Regions from separate parts of the Homo sapiens genome. Here regions 1, 2, 3, 4 and 6 are each linked to region 5. Evidence: promoter capture Hi-C in 16 types of primary human blood cells and fetal thymus (Javierre and others, 2016). All regions are on one chromosome and are shown on one strand. The core of a region is centred on a gene start or on the middle of the fragment in contact, and the rest is flanking DNA. Distances in the headings are between cores, read along the strand shown.

What was found. Contacts are between HindIII fragments. The CHiCAGO score rates a contact against its expected background, and 5 or more counts as called.
Region 1: a fragment that was not itself captured here is called in contact with the fragment with the promoter of EDC4 in region 5 in 1 of 17 cell types (megakaryocytes); the score reaches 5.0 in megakaryocytes.
Region 2: a contact is called between a fragment that was not itself captured here and the fragment with the promoter of EDC4 in region 5, in 1 of 17 cell types (erythroblasts). The highest score is 5.4, in erythroblasts.
Region 3: a fragment that was not itself captured here is called in contact with the fragment with the promoter of EDC4 in region 5 in 4 of 17 cell types (naive B cells, naive CD4 T cells, naive CD8 T cells and 1 more); the score reaches 5.7 in naive B cells.
Region 4: a fragment that was not itself captured here is called in contact with the fragment with the promoter of EDC4 in region 5 in 1 of 17 cell types (neutrophils); the score reaches 5.6 in neutrophils.
Region 6: a contact is called between a fragment that was not itself captured here and the fragment with the promoter of EDC4 in region 5, in 9 of 17 cell types (M1 macrophages, naive B cells, neutrophils and 6 more). The highest score is 6.8, in M1 macrophages.

Annotation. Positions count from the first base shown.
Region 1 is chr16:67,692,594-67,695,293 of GRCh38, reverse strand. The region is part of intron 1 of GFOD2 (Gfo/Idh/MocA-like oxidoreductase domain containing 2); the gene reads left to right. Among named protein-coding and RNA genes, the nearest start is that of GFOD2, 25 kb to the left of the region's middle. The HindIII fragment of the contact is 1,760 bases long and covers 436-2,195 here.
Region 2 is chr16:67,711,948-67,714,647 of GRCh38, reverse strand. The region is part of intron 1 of GFOD2 (Gfo/Idh/MocA-like oxidoreductase domain containing 2); the gene reads left to right. Among named protein-coding and RNA genes, the nearest start is that of GFOD2, 6.0 kb to the left of the region's middle. The HindIII fragment of the contact is 4,334 bases long and covers 1-2,700 here.
Region 3 is chr16:68,027,735-68,030,464 of GRCh38, reverse strand. All of the region lies in intron 2 of DUS2 (dihydrouridine synthase 2), which reads right to left. Among named protein-coding and RNA genes, the nearest start is that of DUS2, 5.8 kb to the right of the region's middle. The HindIII fragment of the contact is 2,127 bases long and covers 401-2,527 here.
Region 4 is chr16:68,113,913-68,116,612 of GRCh38, reverse strand. All of the region lies in intron 1 of NFATC3 (nuclear factor of activated T cells 3), which reads right to left. Among named protein-coding and RNA genes, the nearest start is that of NFATC3, 30 kb to the right of the region's middle. The HindIII fragment of the contact is 6,857 bases long and covers 1-2,700 here.
Region 5 is chr16:67,871,696-67,874,395 of GRCh38, reverse strand. It overlaps EDC4 (enhancer of mRNA decapping 4), which reads right to left and starts at 1,344. Exons shown (of 29, transcript NM_014329.5): 1 at 1,053-1,344. The coding sequence starts at 1,134. It overlaps NUTF2 (nuclear transport factor 2), which reads right to left. Exons shown (of 5, transcript NM_005796.3): 5 at 1,829-2,700. RefSeq lists an enhancer at 628-1,128 and a silencer at 1,022-1,231. The HindIII fragment of the contact is 5,556 bases long and covers 1-2,700 here.
Region 6 is chr16:68,072,511-68,075,210 of GRCh38, reverse strand. DUS2 (dihydrouridine synthase 2) reads right to left here. Exons shown (of 17, transcript NM_017803.5): 13 at 1,056-1,177. Among named protein-coding and RNA genes, the nearest start is that of NFATC3, 12 kb to the left of the region's middle. The HindIII fragment of the contact is 1,112 bases long and covers 890-2,001 here.

The DNA of each region.
Region 1 (2,700 bases), core at 66-2,565, 180 kb after region 5:
TGGGCTCAGTGGCTCATGCCTGTAATCCCAGCACTTTGGGAGGTCAAGGCGGGTGGATCACCTGAGGTCAGGAGTTCGAGACCAGCCTGGCCAACATGGTAAAACCTTGTCTCTACTAAAAATACAAAGATTAGCTGGGTATGGTGGCGTGTGCCTGTAACCCCAGCTACTGAGGTAGTAGCTGAGGCAAGGAGAATCGCTTGAACCGGAGCGGCAAAGGTTGCAGTGAGCCGAGATTGCACCATTACGCTCCAGCCTAGGCGACAGAGTGAGACTCCGTCTCAAAAAAAAAAAAAAAAAAAAAAAGAGAGAGATGGAGAAAGTAGAAAAGGAAAGCAAGGTGACTGAGTGGCCACAGACAGTTTACCATCAGAAAGAATGAAAGCTGGTTAAAATAAAACAACCCCAGTGAGAGTACAGGAGGCAAGCCAAGCTTCACAGTCACAGAGAGTGGAGACAAGAGGCACGAAATTGGCAGGGATCTGGAGTTAGAGGCAGCCCAAGTCATGTGTAATTTAGTGGTTCACAAAGGAACAGGTGTACTTCAGATAGAATCGAGCAGTACAGGATGTTATACTGGGCTATGCTGACAAACCATCCCCTACTATAGACATTTTCTTAGTCCAGTACACTTGTGTCTACAGTAGGAGCAAAAGAGATGCTGGGCTTGAAAATGAAGTTGAGAAAACAATTTCTCCAGCCGTGGTGTCTCATGCCTATAATCCCAGTGCTTTGGGTGGCCGAGGTGGGAGGATCACTTGAAGCCAGGAATTTAAGACCAGCCTGGGCAACATAGTAAGATGCTGCCTCTATATTAAAATAAAATTAAAAAAAACTTTTTTATTAAAAAGCCAGGCTCAGTGGGTCACGCTTATAATCCCACCACCTTGGGAGGCTGAGCTGAGAGAATCGCTTGAGGCCAGGAGTTTGAGGCCAGAGTTTGAGACCAGCCTAGGTAACACAGTGAGACCCCATCTCTACAAAAAATAAAAAATTAGGCCAGGCTCAGTGGCTCATGCCTGTAATCCCAGCACTTCTGGAGGCCCAGGCGAGCGGATCACCTGAGGTCAGGAGTTTGAGACCAGCCTGGCGAACATGGTGAAACCCTGTCTCTACTAAAAATACAAAAAAATTAGCCAGGTGTGATGGCGTGTGCCTGTAATCCCAGCCAGTCAGGAGGCTGAGGCAGGAGAATCGCCTCAGCCTCAGAGCTCGGGAGGTGGAAGTTGCAGTGAGCCAAGATTGCACCACTGCATTCCAGCCTGGGTGATAGAGCAAGACTCTGTCTTAAAAAAAAAAAAGTATGTCCTAAATGCCACTGGATTATGGGGGTTGGTTTTTTTGTTTGTTTGTTTGTTTTTTGTTTTTGAGACAGAGTCTTTCTGTTGCTCTGTCACCCAGGCTGGAGTGCAATGGCATGATCATAACCCACTATAGCCTGAAACTCCTGGGCACAAGTAATCCTCCCACCTCAGCCTCCCAAAGTGCTGGGATTACAGGCATGAGGCATTGCACCCAGCGGCCACTGAATTGTTCACTTTAAAATGGTTAATTTTGGCTGGGTACAGAGTTTCAGTATGGAATGATGATGAAGTCCTGGAGGTGGATGTTGGTGATGGTTGCACAATACGAATGTATTAGTGCACTGAACTGTACACCTAAAAATGGTTTAAAATGGTACATTCTGTAATGTACATTTTTCCACTTCCCAAAAAAGATTCTAGCCAGGGACCATGGCTCATGCCTGTAATCCCAGCAATTTGGGAGGCCAAGGCAGGAGGATTGCTTGAGCCCAGGAGTTTGAGACCAGCTTGGGCAACATGATGGAACCCTGTCTCTACAAAAAACACAAAAAATTAGCCAGGTATGATTAGCAGGGCGTGATGACACGCACCTATAGTCCCAGCCACTTACTTGAACCCAGGAGGCGGAGGTTGCAGTGAGTCGAGATGGCACCACTGGACTCCAGCCTGGGTGACAGAGTGAGACTGTGTCAAAAAAAAAAAAACCCAAAAAGCCAGGTGTGGTGGCTAATTTGAAATAAGGTTCTTTGTCTGAATTATAAGTGGTCCTGGCTAAATATGCAGATGCAGTGCTACTCCCTGGATTTGGCTAGATCAGGGAGCTTGTGATGGTGTCCCATTAGTAGGACCAGAGGTACATATATCTGTCACTTTGTGTTTGAAATGCAAGCTTTTTATTTAAAAAGTGAGAAAGGATTCCTTTTAGAACCACATTTTCCTTTTTTTTTTGTTTTTGTTTTTGAGACAGAGTCTCAATCTGTCGCCCAGGCTGGAGTGCAGTGGCGCAATCTCGGCTCACTGCAAGCTCTGCCTCCTGGGTTCACGCCATTCTCCCGCCTCAGCCTCCCGAGTAGCTGGGACTGCAGGTGCCCACCATCACGCCTGGATAATTTTGTTTTTGTATTTTTAGTAGAGACGGGGTTTTACCATGTTAGCCAGGATGGTCTCAATCTCCTGACCTCGTGATTCGCCCTCCTCAGCCTCCCAAAGAGCTGAGATTACAGGCATGAGCCACCGTGCCCGGCCTTTTTTTTTTTTTTTAAATTATTCCCCTTTATCCCCTTTCTCTACTCTGGTTTCCCTATCCCCTGTAAATGTATTTAGTATGTATCCTTTCATTTGTATAATTTCCTATGAAGCATTTTTGTTTCTGTGCATGTGTGTGGGTTTTTGTTTT
Region 2 (2,700 bases), core at 11-2,510, 160 kb after region 5:
GATAACCCCAAAATAGAACCCAAAACACTTCTACTTGGCTTTGAGATTTTACTGTATCACTTTATAACCTCAAAATCTTTATTATTTACTTTCATAATTGTATTTTACTTAGGATGATAACCTTAGGCAAATCGTGTAATTTCTGGATCGTAATTTTTTTTTTTTTTTTTTTTTGAGACAGTGTTTCTATCTCCCAGGCTGGAGTGTAGTGGCACAATCCCGGCTCACTGCAATGTCCACTTCTGGGTTCAAGCGATTCTTGTGCCTCAGCCTCCCGAGTAGCTGGGATTACAGGTGTGCGCCTTCATGCCTGGCTAATTTTTGTATTTTTAGTAGAGATGGGGTTTCGTCATGTTGGCCAGGCTGGTCTTGAACTCCTGGCCTCAGTGATCGGCTCACCTCAGCCTCCCAAAGTGCTGGGATTACAGTTGGGAGTGACCCTGCCTGGCCTCTGGACCATAATTTCTTAACCTGTATAACAGGAAGCAAAATGAAAATGTCATAAATGTGTAACACTAGAGAATGAAAAGCTAGTTCATACGGTCAGTGGCTGTGATATTGTGAAATACATATTTGGTCTTCTGTCTCTGTTTCCTGGCATGCAATTTCAATAGGTTGGTGCAAAAGCAATTGCAGATTTTGCCGCAAAGTAATGGCAAAAACCGCAGTTGCTTTTGCACCAACCAAATCCCTGGAATCTCCTGAGTGATGGTTTTTTGTATGCTAATGAGTTAACTGGTGGCTGGCAGCTCCTGGGTAGTTTCAGGCTGGGGACTGGTCATAGGAAACATCAAAGCATGATTAGAGGGTTGTGACTTTCAGCCCCACTCTGCAACCTCTGGGGAGGAGAGTGGGACTGAAGGTTAAGTTGATCGTCAATGGCCAGTGGTTTAATCAATCATGCCTAGTTAATGAAGCCTCCATAAACACAGGGAGGGCATGAAAGCTCCAAGCCCCTTCCCCCATACCTTGCCCTATGCACCTTCTTCATCTCTATCCTTTGTAATATTCTTTATAATAAACCAGTAAATATAAGTAAGTGTTTCCCAGAGTTCTGTGAGCTGCTCTAGCAAATTAGTTGATCTGAAGGAGGGAGTCATAGGATCTCCAGTCTGTAGCCCATCAGGCAGAGGCACAGTTGAAACAACCTGGGGCTTTTGATGGCATTGGAAGTCGGGAAGGGGAAGTCTGTGGGACTGAGCCCTCTACCTGGGGGATCTGATGCGATTCTCCAGGTAGATATCGTCAGAATTGAATTGAAGGACACCAGCAGGTGTTGACTGCAGAATTGCTTGCTTGCTTGGTGTGTGGGGAGAAACCCCCACACATTTGGTCTTCTGTGTTGATTATTGTGGTGTGAAAGCAGAGGAAAAACAATTTGAATTTGTCTTTCCACTTTCACAATGACATACCTGTTATGTAACCCATAAAACTATTTATGATAACATGAAAGATGCTTATGTCTGGCCAGTGTGGCGGCTCACGCCTGTAATCCCAGTACTTTCGGAGGCCGAGGTGGGCGGATCACTTGAGGCCAGGAGTTCAAGACCAGCCTGACCAAGATGGCGAAACCCTGTCTCTATAAAAAATAAAAAAAATTAGCTGGGTGTGGTGGTGCATGCCTGTAGTCCCAGCTACTCAGGAGGCTGAGGCAGGAAAATCACTTGAACTTGAGCGCCCAGCAGAGGCGCTCCTCACATCCCAGACAGGGCGGCGGGGCAGAGGTGCTCCCCACATCTCAGACGATGGGCGGCCGGGCAGAGACGCTCCTCACTTCCTAGATGGGATGGCGGCGGGGAAGAGGCGCTCCTCGCTTCCCAGATGGGATGGCGGCCGGGCAGAGACGCTCCTCACTTTCCAGACTGGGCAGCCAGGCAGAGGGGCTCCTCACATCCCAGACGATGGGTGGCCAAGCAGAGACGCTCCTCACTTCCCAGACGGGGTGGCGGCCGGGCAGAGGCTGCAATCTCGGCTCTCCGGGAGGCCAAGGCAGGCGGCTGGGAGGTGGTTGCAGCGAGCCGAGATCACGCCACTGCACTCCAGCCTGGGCACCATTGAGCACTGAGTGAACGAGACTCCATCTGCAATCCCGGCACCTCGGGAGGCCGAGGCTGGCGGATCACTCGCGGCTAGGAGCTGGAGACCAGCCCGGCCAACACAGCGAAACCCCGTCTCCACCAAAAAAAAAACGAAAACCAGTCAGGCGTGGCGGTGCGCGCCTGCAATCGCAGGCACTCGGCAGGCTGAGGCAGGAGAATCAGGCAGGGAGGTTGCAGTGAGCCGAGATGGCAGCAGTACCGTCCAGCCTTGGCTCGGCATCAGAGGGAGACCGTGGAGGGAGAGGGAGAGGGGGAGGGGGAGGGGGAGGGGGAGAGGGAGAGGGAGAGGGAGCTCTTTATTACATTTTTAAACATTGCAAGAGCCTACTGATGGTTTTGGTGAGCTCAGTATATATGGTTTTCTATAGTATGGTTTTGATGGGCTCAGTATATATGTCTTAGTTTATTGACTGTGCAGGAACTAGGTCTGAAATCTTTCATTCTTTCAGCAAATATTTAGCACCAACTACATGTCAGACCTTGTTTTAGGCACTAGGGATATAGCAATGAACAAAACAGACAAAAAATTTGTTGTCTTCAAGGAGGATACATTCTAGCAGGGATGGTGGGGAGAGACAAACAATGGAAGAATACACCTGTT
Region 3 (2,730 bases), core at 215-2,714, 160 kb before region 5:
TAACCACCATGCCCGGCCAATTTTTGTGTTTTCAGTAGAGACGGGGTTTCACCATGTTGGCCAGACTCGTCTTGAACTCCTGACCTCAAGTGATCCACCCGCCTCAGCCTCCCAAAGTGCTGGGATTGCAGATGTGAGTCACCACTCCTGGCCTCCGGTGGGGTTTTTAGAAAATCCTTGGAAACAGTTCTTATCTCAGACATGTAAGCATGAGCTTCCTCTACTTCACACCTTCCTTGTCCTATTTTGACAAAAGCGGTTTCATCCTGGTATCTGCAACTTTCATAATCCCATTAATTATAGTGCTTTCAGATTGAACATAACACTATTCAGGAAAAATAATGAGTATAAACAAACTTTACCATTCCCTTCCCTGTCAATTTTCCCCAAAGACAAAGCTTGCTTAAAAAGCAATTTCTGGCCAGGCATGGTGGCTCACACCTGTAATCCCAGCACTTTGGGAGGCTGAGGCGGGAGGATCGTTTGAGGCCAGGAGTTCAAGACCAGCCCAGGCAACATAATAAGACACCACCTCTACAAAAAATTAGCGGGGCATGGTGGTACACACCTGTGGTCCTAGGTACTCCACCTGCCTCAGCCTCCCAAAGTGTTGGGATTACAGGCGTGAGCCACTGCATCCAGCTCTAAAATTCAAATTTGGAAAGTCAACTAGAATCAAGTATTTACAGAATTATCTTATTTCCTAATCTGAACATGTGGCTGGGTCCAGTGGCTCATGCCTATAATCCCAACACTTTGGGAGGCCAAGGTGGGCAGATTACCTGAGCTCAGTAGTTCAAGACCAGCCTGGGCAACATGGCAAACCCCATCTATACCAAAAAATACAAAAATTAGCCGGGTATGGTGGTGCAGGCCTGTTATCCCACCTACTTGGGGGGCTGAGGCAGGAGAATCACTTGAACTTGTGAGGTGGAGGCTGCAGTGAGCCAAGATCGTATCACTGCACTCCAGCCTGGAAATTGGAGCAAGACTCTGCCTCAAAAAAATAAAAAAAGTGTAAATACACCAGGTGTGGTAGCTCACACCTGTAATCCTAACACTGGGAGGTTGAGGCAAGAGGATCATTTGAGCCCAAGAGTTCAAGACCAGTCAGGGCAACATAGTAAGACCCCATCTCTATTAAAAATAAAAATTAAAAACAAAAATTAAAAACAGAAAACAAAATACATGCACATGACAAAAAGTAAAAATGATTTGTTAGATTTGAGGAGAAAGAGGTGATATAGCTTTTTTTTTTTAGAGATGGGACCTTGCTGTGTTGCCCAGGCTGGAGTGCAGCGGCACAATCATGGCTCACTGCAGTCCCAAACTCCTGGGCTCTAGTGATCCTCCCATCTCAGCATCCGGAGTAACTGGGACTACAGGCATGTTCCACCACATCTAGCTAATTTTGTGTTTAAATTTTTCTGTAGCGATACAGTCTTGCTATGTTGCTCAGGCTAGTCTCCAACTCCTGGCCTCTAGCGATCCTCCTGCCTAACCTTCTGAAGTGCTGGAATCAGGCGTGACCCACTGTGCCCAGCCCTGATACAGCATTTCATAGTTAAGATCCTGAGCTCTGGAATTGGACAGACCTTCACTTGAATCCCAGCTGTGCCTCGGGCACATTAATTAACCCAGCTGAGCCTCAGCTTCTCCTTGTGGAATATGAGGCTCCACTATGGGAGTCAAAGGAAATGCTGTGAAGAGTGAATTCCATGGTGTACCACAGTTCTCAGCACATAGTAAAGGCTTAATAAATGTTAGCCACTCTCATCATGCTTTCACGGTTTCAACACTCTATTTTTTGTTTGTTTGTTTGTTTTGAGACGGAGTCTCCTACTGTCTCCCAGGATGGAGTGCAGTGGCGTGATCTCAGCTCACTGCAACCTCCGCCTCCCGGGTTCAAGCAATTCTCTTGCCTCAGCCTCTCGAGTAGCTGGGATTACAGGTGCCCACCACCACGCCCAGCTAATTTTTTGTATTTTTTTTTAGTAGGGATGGGGTTTCACCATGTTGGCCAGACTGGTCTCAAACTCCTGACTTCGTGATTCACCCGCCTTGGCCTCCCAAAGTGCTGGGATTACAGGTGTGAGCCACCGCGCCTGGCCTCTAACGTCTATTATTATGTTGTTATATCGACAAACATCTGCTAGCTCTTTTAAGATCAAGGCAGCGTGTGAGGTATAAAGACACGGAAAGCACTAAGCTCTTAACCTCAAAGAGCTTCTCAGCTCTACAACTGCCATCATCTATCAACTGAACCATGACAACAGTCTCCAAACCAGTCTCTCTGCCTCCAGGCTTATCACTTCCAATCCATGCTCCTTCCAGCCAAAGGGCTCTTTCCAAACGCAAAGATATGATACGCAAAACATGATAGTTCCATTTCTGGACGCCTTCCCTACTGCCTGTAAAATTAAGTCTACACTCTTTAACACAGTAAATATAAGGTCTGGTCTCCACCTTCCATAGAAGCCTCTTTCATCACCTGCCTCCTGCCCTCAGAACTCCCCCATGCTAAGCTTCAGCTATTCTTAAATATTTCTAGTTCCCCAGCCTGGCCTGCTCTCTCTCAGTATGGGATCTCTGAACAAGCTGTCCCTGCCCAGGGGCCACGTCCCTATTCTTCCACCTGGCTGACTCCCTGTAGACTTTTAGAACCTCATCACCTCCTCCTGGAAGCCTTCTCTGACCAACATCTCCCAAAACAGGGTAAAGGCATCTCTG
Region 4 (2,700 bases), core at 54-2,553, 240 kb before region 5:
CTGCTTTATCTTTTTCCCAAGTGTCCAACCTCTGGAAATGATATAAGCAGCTACTACAATCTAACTATGACGAACAGTCCTAAGTCCAGATTTCCAAGTCTAGAATTCTCAAATTCAAGGTGCTTCAGAAATTTCACCATCTCAAGAATTACTTGTTCCATGTTCCTTCAACCACCAGAGGGACTCATGCAAGCATACAGTAATCTGGACAACCCAAGTTGTCTTATGAATGTTTTTATGTATAGTATGAAGCAGAGGTTGGCAAAATACAGTCCATGTGCCAAGTCTGGCCCACCAACAAGTGGTAGGCCACATTTAAAATCATTAGTTTGTAGGCTATAGAAAGCCTACAGATAATAGTTTGTCTTTCTATAGCCTACAAACTAATGGTTTTAAATGGTTTCAAAAAATTGTTTTTAACTGTGTCATGACAAAAAAAAGTTATGATTCAAATTCTGGTATCCATAAATAACGTTTTACTGAAACACAACCATGCTCATTCATTTATATACTATCTATGGTTATTTTCACACAAGGGTAGAACTGAGTAACTGTCAAAGGGACCACATGTACTACCCCTATTCCTTCACATTGCTGCTTGATGGACACAAATTGCAGTGACAAAGTTCTAATGAGTGCAATGCATACGTATATACTGTGACTTTAAAAAAATTTTTACTAGTGCATAACACAAAAAGAAAAGTAGACTTTGAATGTTGCCCTTTTAAAGCACAGTGGAGTGTGGTTATACTGTTATCAAATTAGATGTGCAATAACATTATGGCCATATATATGCATTACCACAGTAATGCATTCATCATAATACTCCCAACTCACAGGAAAAGAAAAAAAATTTAAAACAAACAACAACAACAAAAAAAAACAATCGGCCAGGTATGGTGGCTCACGCCTGTAATTCCAGCACTTTGGGAGGCCAAAGGGGGCAGATCACTTGAGATCAGGAGTCCAAGACCAGCCTGGCCAACATGGTGAAACCCTGTCTCTACTAAAAATACAAAAATTAGCTGGGCATGGTGCCGCGTGCCTGTAATCCCAGCTACTTGGGAGGCTGGGGCAGGGGAATCAGTTGAACCCGGGAGGCGGAGGTCGCAGTAAGCCGAGATTGCGCTACTACTGCACTCTAGCCTGTGTGACAAGAGCAAGACTCCGTCTCTCAAAAAAAACAAAAACAAAAAACAAAGAAAATAAAATGGCTCATTTGCTAGCAAAGTAAAGAAAGTCATTTACTGGGGCCGGGTGCAGCGGCTCATGCCTATAATCCCAGCAATTTGGGAAGCTGAGGCAGGTGGATCACAAGGTCAGGAGTTCGAGACCAGCCTGGACAACATGGCAAAACCTCATCTCTACTAAAATACAAAATTTAGCCAGGCATAGTGGCAGGCGCTTGTAATCCCAGCTACTTGGGAGGCTGAGGCAAGGCGAATCACTTGAAGCCGGGAGGCGGAGGTTGCAGTGAGCTGAGATTGCACCACTGCATTCCAGCCTCGGTGACAGAGTGAGACTTGGTCTCAAAAAAAAAAAAAGAAAGTCATTTACTGATGGTGAGTTATTTAAATTGTGTTTCACCGGAGAAACCACGGAAATATGTTCAGAGAAAAACTTACAAGACTATTAGCCTTTCAGCAAGAACAACTGGTAGAAAAACTGAGGACATTGGTAGCAACATTAATAGGTTAATTACAAAATAAAACAAACGATTTCCTTAAAAAGTGGTTTTCCGGCCAGGTGCGGTGGCTGACGCCTGTAATCTCAGCACTTTGGGAGGCAGAGGCAGGCGGATCACGAGATCAGGAGTTCGAGACTATCCTGGCCAACATGGTGAAACCCCGTCTCTACTAAACATACAAAAATTATCTGGGCGTGGTGGCACTTGCCTGTAATCCCAGCTACTTGGGAGGCTGAGGTAGGAGAATCATTTGAACCAGGGAGTCGGAGGTTGCAGTGAGCCAAGATTGCACCACAGCACTCCAGCCTGGCAACAAAGCAAGACTCCGTCTCAAAAAAAAAAAAAAAAAGTGCTTTTCCTTGGCCCTTGATGTGCTGCCAGATGTTACCAACATCTGCTCAGTTGTTATTTATTGAAGAGTCAATGCAGAGTTTAAAGTGACTAAACAATTAGCCTCCATGAATAGTGTGAAAGAAACAACTTCAAGAAAAAACATTTGCAAAGAAGTTAAGAAAACACTAGTTTAGGCAGGAGGAGCCAAGATGGCTGATTAGAAGCCACTCCAGTCTGCGGCTCCCACTAAGAGGAGCAAAAACGGCCAGTGAATCCTGCTCCGTCAACTGAGGTATCCAGGTTCTCTCACTGGGACTGACTAGGTGGTTGGTGTGATCCACACAGAGCTAGGAAAAGCAGGGTAGAGCGACAACCTGACCTGGTAGCCACAAAGGCGAACTCCCACACCCAGCCAAGGGAGGTGGTGAGTAACTGTGCTACCCTGCGCGGGAAACCAGACTTTTTCCACAGATCTGTACATCCCATGGATCAGGAAATCCCCTCATGAGCCCACGCCACCAAGGCCTTGGGACCCAAGCACAGAGCTGTGCAACCTGCTCAGGTTGTGGCTAGCAGCAGCAGGCTGGACACTGCCTAAGACTACCAAGTTCCCACGGAAAGGGGCAGTCGCCATCACTGCGGCTCCAGTCTGCCATTTTCCTTTGCTGGTGTTGGGGAAA
Region 5 (2,700 bases), core at 95-2,594:
TGAATCCACCCCTAGTGAGCACCAGTGCCTGCTTCCAGAAGCAGCCAGTCTGGGCCTCCCAGCAGGTGTAAGAACAAGATCTGAGGAAACACAATTCTCCACTGTACGCCCACACCATCATCACCGGCCACTTCAGAGATCCCTAAACCTGTCAGTAAACTAGTGCCTGCACACGTGCTATTTCCTCTTCCTAATAGGTGGCTTCTCCATAGGTGCCTTGGGTGCCTTTCCTGACACCCAAGCCCCTGTTCACATTACAAGACCTAGCCCAGTCTCCCCTCTCAGACCTGCACTCTGCACTCACCAGCCTCCACCCTTCCCACGCCCATCACAGTATCGAGACACTCCTTTCTTTCAATGACAACAGTATATTACAACCCTGTTAGCTGTGTCTTGGGGAATCTTTGGGGGCAAGACTAGTTCTGAGGTATCATTAAGAGCCAAAGCGAAATATGAATGAATGGGAACCAATTAGGGCTTGCAGATATTTGTAGCATAATTCAGTCAGGGTGGTGCGGTCTGTGATTTGCCTTCATCCCAGAAAGAACACGGAATTGAGACTGGACACCTTCCTCCTGGAAATCAGTTTCAGAACGGGAGGCCTGGAGTCTTTATTCCAGAGAGAAGGGCAAGTTATGGAGGGGGACCGGCAGCTCTTCAGCATCGCGCTTAAGCCTGGGCCCAGAATTCCATATACGGAGCCCAGACCAGGCCTCTGAACCATGGAGAAAGGGAAGAGGAGCTAGGCCAGTCCCAGGAACACTAGAGACCTCGGGGCCAGGAAACCAGAGGGCCCCAGCGGATTCAGAGAAGGCGCCTCACCTTCAACCGAGACGCTGAAGGACAAGGCAGAACAGCCTGAGGACAAGATAGGGAGGGGTCACACCCAGGGGTCTGCGCCCTTCGAGGGGCACAGTCAATCCCCGTCCACCCTTACCCGCCGGGAGGATCCAGAGCTAGTCCTAAGGGAGCTGTGGGCCCCAATGGCGGTTCAGACGCGCGCCGCCCTTTTGTCAGCTCGCCTGGGGCCCACCCCCGCAACCCCCGCTCACCGCCCGCGGGCCGGTCCAGCTTGAGGATGTCCCGCAGGTGCTGCGTGGCGTCCTCGATGTCGATGCTCGCGCAGGAGGCCATGGGCCCTGCGGCGGGCGCCCCGCCCGCACCGCGTTCGTTCCGCCGCCGCCGCGCACCACGCACCCTCGCTCACCCGCCACGGGGCGAGACAGCGGGACGCCGGTCACTACACAGTCCACCCGCAGTTCGCAAACCGCCACCCGCGCAGCGTCGCTGAGCCCCGCCAACCCCACCAACCGCCTCCACTTCCGGCACCCACGAGCCGAGGCTCCCGGAACCTGCCAGGGCCGGAGAAGAAAGGTTCCGGGCTGGGGGCGGAAGCCTAAACCCCTCCCGCAGCCAGTCCCCCTCGGCGGCCCCGCCCCTGTGTCCGCGAGGTCAGGAAAGTCCCACGGGGCTGAAGTAAGCGTCCACGCACTGGGCCACCTAAAGCCCTACTCGACTCAGAAGGCGCCAGGTCCCTGCCCACTCCCAGAGCATGGACTCCGATGGTCCTGGGACGGGGTCAACTTAGCCGCCCATGCTAAGGTCCCTCAGACCCCCAGAATATGCTGAATTGGCAGGTGCCTCAGGTTCCCTTTGGGAATGGGTCGGAATAACTCAAGGCCTGAGGCTACCCTCGAGGTCATAAAACTCAGGAATTGCAAGAGCAGGGGAGATGATCCCACTACAATGACCAGTCATTGTTCCCTACTGTCCCCCAGCATCCCCTTGTCCCACCTGGCACCCTCAGGTTGGAAGAAAGAAACCACAGTTTACAAATTCTTCTTTATTGCAGACAGTTCAGGCACAGGTACATGGAAGAAGCCGTATTGCAGATTTTACACAAGGTGGTTTGAGGCAGCAGGCACCTACCTCTTCCCCACCCCCACTTCCCCAAATACACATCAGCCTAGAGATCATTCCCACTGAAATCTCCTGAGCATGCTGTCCTCTCAAACAGCACACCATCCAGCCCTGTGCCCAATGTCACCAGGCAATCTGTGGGATCTGAGGAGGTCCTTAGCCTCCACCCGTAGTGGGACAGGGGAAGGGTATCCTTTTACATGTCAGATTTAGCTGTGGTGTCCTTACCAATCCTAAAACCCTTAACAGGGCACTGACCCAAATCTTGGGTTTGGTTCTAGCCTATGGTTGCTACATTGCCACTAGGTTTATACCATCCAGAAGTCTGTGGGACAAGGGGCTAGATTTGTACTGGGCAAGGCCTTTGTCCCCAAAATGGAGAAGCAGAAACTGCCCTAATAGCTAAGACTCCCCGGAATTGGAAGATAGCATGAAGTCTGTATGCTGAGGAAGGAAGTGGAGAGAGGCCTGGCAATGTCCTGCAGCAGTCTGAGGGGTGAGGACTCCTAAAGCATGAGTCCCTCACAGACTGCCTCCTTCCACAGCTCCTGACCTATACTCCAACACAACTGGGCCTGGCTCTGTGGGCAGTGGAGGCTGGCTCTTCGGGTTACCTGCCTTTGGGTAAAGATATCCAAAGCAGATGGGACAGGAGCTGAGCTGCCCTCTGCCTGGCTTGGTGTATGTGGGGCATCCTGGATATGATCCTGATCCTTCTGGGGATAGAGCAGGCCCCTCCCTTGATACTGCTGACAACTCAGCCCGGAGGGCCTGAACGTG
Region 6 (2,700 bases), core at 196-2,695, 200 kb before region 5:
CCTGCCCAGCCCTGGGATTACTGTGGACTGGAAGATGGAAAGTGAATGTGAACCCAAGCGTGGACACTGGAGGGAGGCTGGGCTGGGTGGCAAAGGTTGTAAAGGTCACCCCCACCACCTGCAGCCTCTCTCCTGAGGGGAAGCACACAGATGGTATCCCCAGCCAGCCGTGACTGAGTTAACCAATGCTGATCAAGCACATGGGCCCATGGGAGGAAGAGACAGAGGCCTGACCACTAAGTGGTTCCCCACTTCCCGCCCAGCCACAGGCAGTTATACATGGGTCTCAGCTGACACTGAGGCACCACCCAGAGCTACAGAGTTATGTGGGGTAGGGACTGAACCAATGCCATAAGCCAAGGGTGGGAAGAGGGCTCTGGCAAAGGTTTTTCCCTTCTAGGAAACATCTTGAAGGCTGGAAGACTCAAACGAAGATAGATCCCCAATGGCAAAAGTGGTTCAGAAAGGCATCTATGTAAGAGGGAGGCTACAGATAGCTCACGTGAGAGGGAGAGAGCCTTCCAGGCAGACGACCCATTACAAGCACAGGTGTGGAGTTCTGGAAGCAGACAGGTAGACAGGGAGCTGTGGGGGCAGTGGCTAGGCCAGCTTGTGAAGGGCCTCAACTGTCAACCATCTGAGCTAGAGCTGCACCTGATCTAGAGAATCAACAGGTGGTCTCTCAAACTGCAGGGTGATGGATGTGAGTGCAGGCTCAAGGTAGAGGCTCCATGCTACAGCCCAATTCTCCTGACCACTGGTTCCTGGGGGCCTGGCCTGTGACTATCCCATTTATGGAAAATCCCCTTCCTTTGCATTCCTCTATCCTTCTAGTACCCTAGTTCCCAGAGCTCTGCTGATCCGTCCAGGGATGGGACGTTTCAAAGCTTTCAAAGAATCCCCTCCTGGGAGGCAAAGCTGTACCATCACTCCACTCCTCTACATCTACATCCAGAAGCTGTGTCCCTGGTCCCCTGGTGGAGTCAGCTTAGGGCTCAAAGTCAAACTTGGGCAATGCGTACAAGGACAGATGGACATCTTATTGTGCCTCTTACCAAATTTCCCGGGAAGACTGGGCAGCATGGAGCAACCTTCCCTGGGGCGACTCCAGCTGTTCTCGTAGCATCTGGCACAAGCAGTACTTGGTGTTGGTGTAGTGGTTGTCATACTGCACCGCCTGAGAAAAGAAATGACTTGCCTGATGCCCAGGCAGGCTCTAAGGCCTGGGCTATGCTCTGATGGCAGGGAAAGGAGCTCCAAGAAGGCACCAGAGATGTATGTGTAGCCAAGGCAATGTGACCCCCATAAGAAGAACCACCACTGGCCAGGAGCAGTGGCTCACATCTGTAATCCCAGCACTCTGAGAGGCCAATGCAGGAGGACTGCTTGAGGCTAGGAGTTCAAGAGCAGCCTGGGCAACGTAAGACTCAACTCTACAAAAATTAAAAAAAAGAAAATTATCGGCTGGGCACGGTGGCTCACGCCTGTAATCACAGCACCTTGGGAGGCCAAGGCGGGCGGATCACCTGAGGTCAGGAGTTCAAGACCAGCCTGACCAACATGGTGAAGCCCCGTCTCTACTAAAAATACAAAATTAGCTGGGCGTGGTGGCGGGTGCCTGTAATCCCAGCTACTCGGGAGGCTGAGGCAAGAGAATCGCTTGAACCCTGGAGGCGAAGGTTGCGGTGAGCCAAGATCGTGCCACTGCACTCCAGCCTGGGCGACAACAGCAAAACTCTGTCTCAAAAAAAAAAAAAAAAAGAAAAAGAAAATTAGCCAGGCATGTTGGCACACACCTGTAGCCATAGCTACTAGGGAGGCTAAGGCAAGAGGATTGCTTGCACCCAGGAGTTGTGGCTGTAGTGAGCTATGATCATGCCACTGCACTCCAGCCTGGGCAACAGACTGAGACCCTATCTAAAATTAAAAATAAAAATAAAAATAAATTAAAAAGCCACTTCGACCTTGGTCATCTACTCTTCCAGCTAGTGGTACAAAGCTTGAGGGTCACAGCCAAGGACCACGGTCAGAAACACATTCTCCTGGACAGCCTGACTGAGGTCTCGAAGTGCGGGAGCCCCTTCCTGCTTCAGCCACCACAGAGGACCTACTGCCAAGTATCTTCCAGGGAAGGGAGGGGAAACACACCAAATTCTGGCATGGCAGGTCCAGTGCCAGGAAAGGGGTGAGATTCTTCTATTCCTTCTAACCAGAATGGGCACCTTCCCTTCCCACATCTTGAATAGCCTCTAACTTCCCCCTACGTGGGTAAAACACAGCATCATTTAGTTCACATGGGTTACTCATGACTACATTTATCTATACAAGTGTGAGGTGCAACTGTCACCATCACTCCACAGACCGTGAAATGAAGGCTCAGGGAGGCAAGATGACTGACTGCCTGGGACACCCAGTGGAAGTCGGCTGGCTAGAGGTAGGGCAGGAGAGCAGTATTGGGTGAAGGTGGCCTTCCCCAGCCCTCCAGGACACCCTCCCATCCCCCACCCCCTATGCTGCTCTAGTAACTCCACGTGGGCCTATGACTTCAGTGGCTGGGAAAGTGCCACGGCACGCTCAGGACAAAGTGGGAAGTAAGTCGGGGCGCCCCGGCTGGTGGCAAGTCCTTGACTCAGCTTGTCTGGGAAGAAGGCACCTGGCTGGACCAGAAGCAGCCCTGCCTATGCTTGAAAGCCGCTCCCT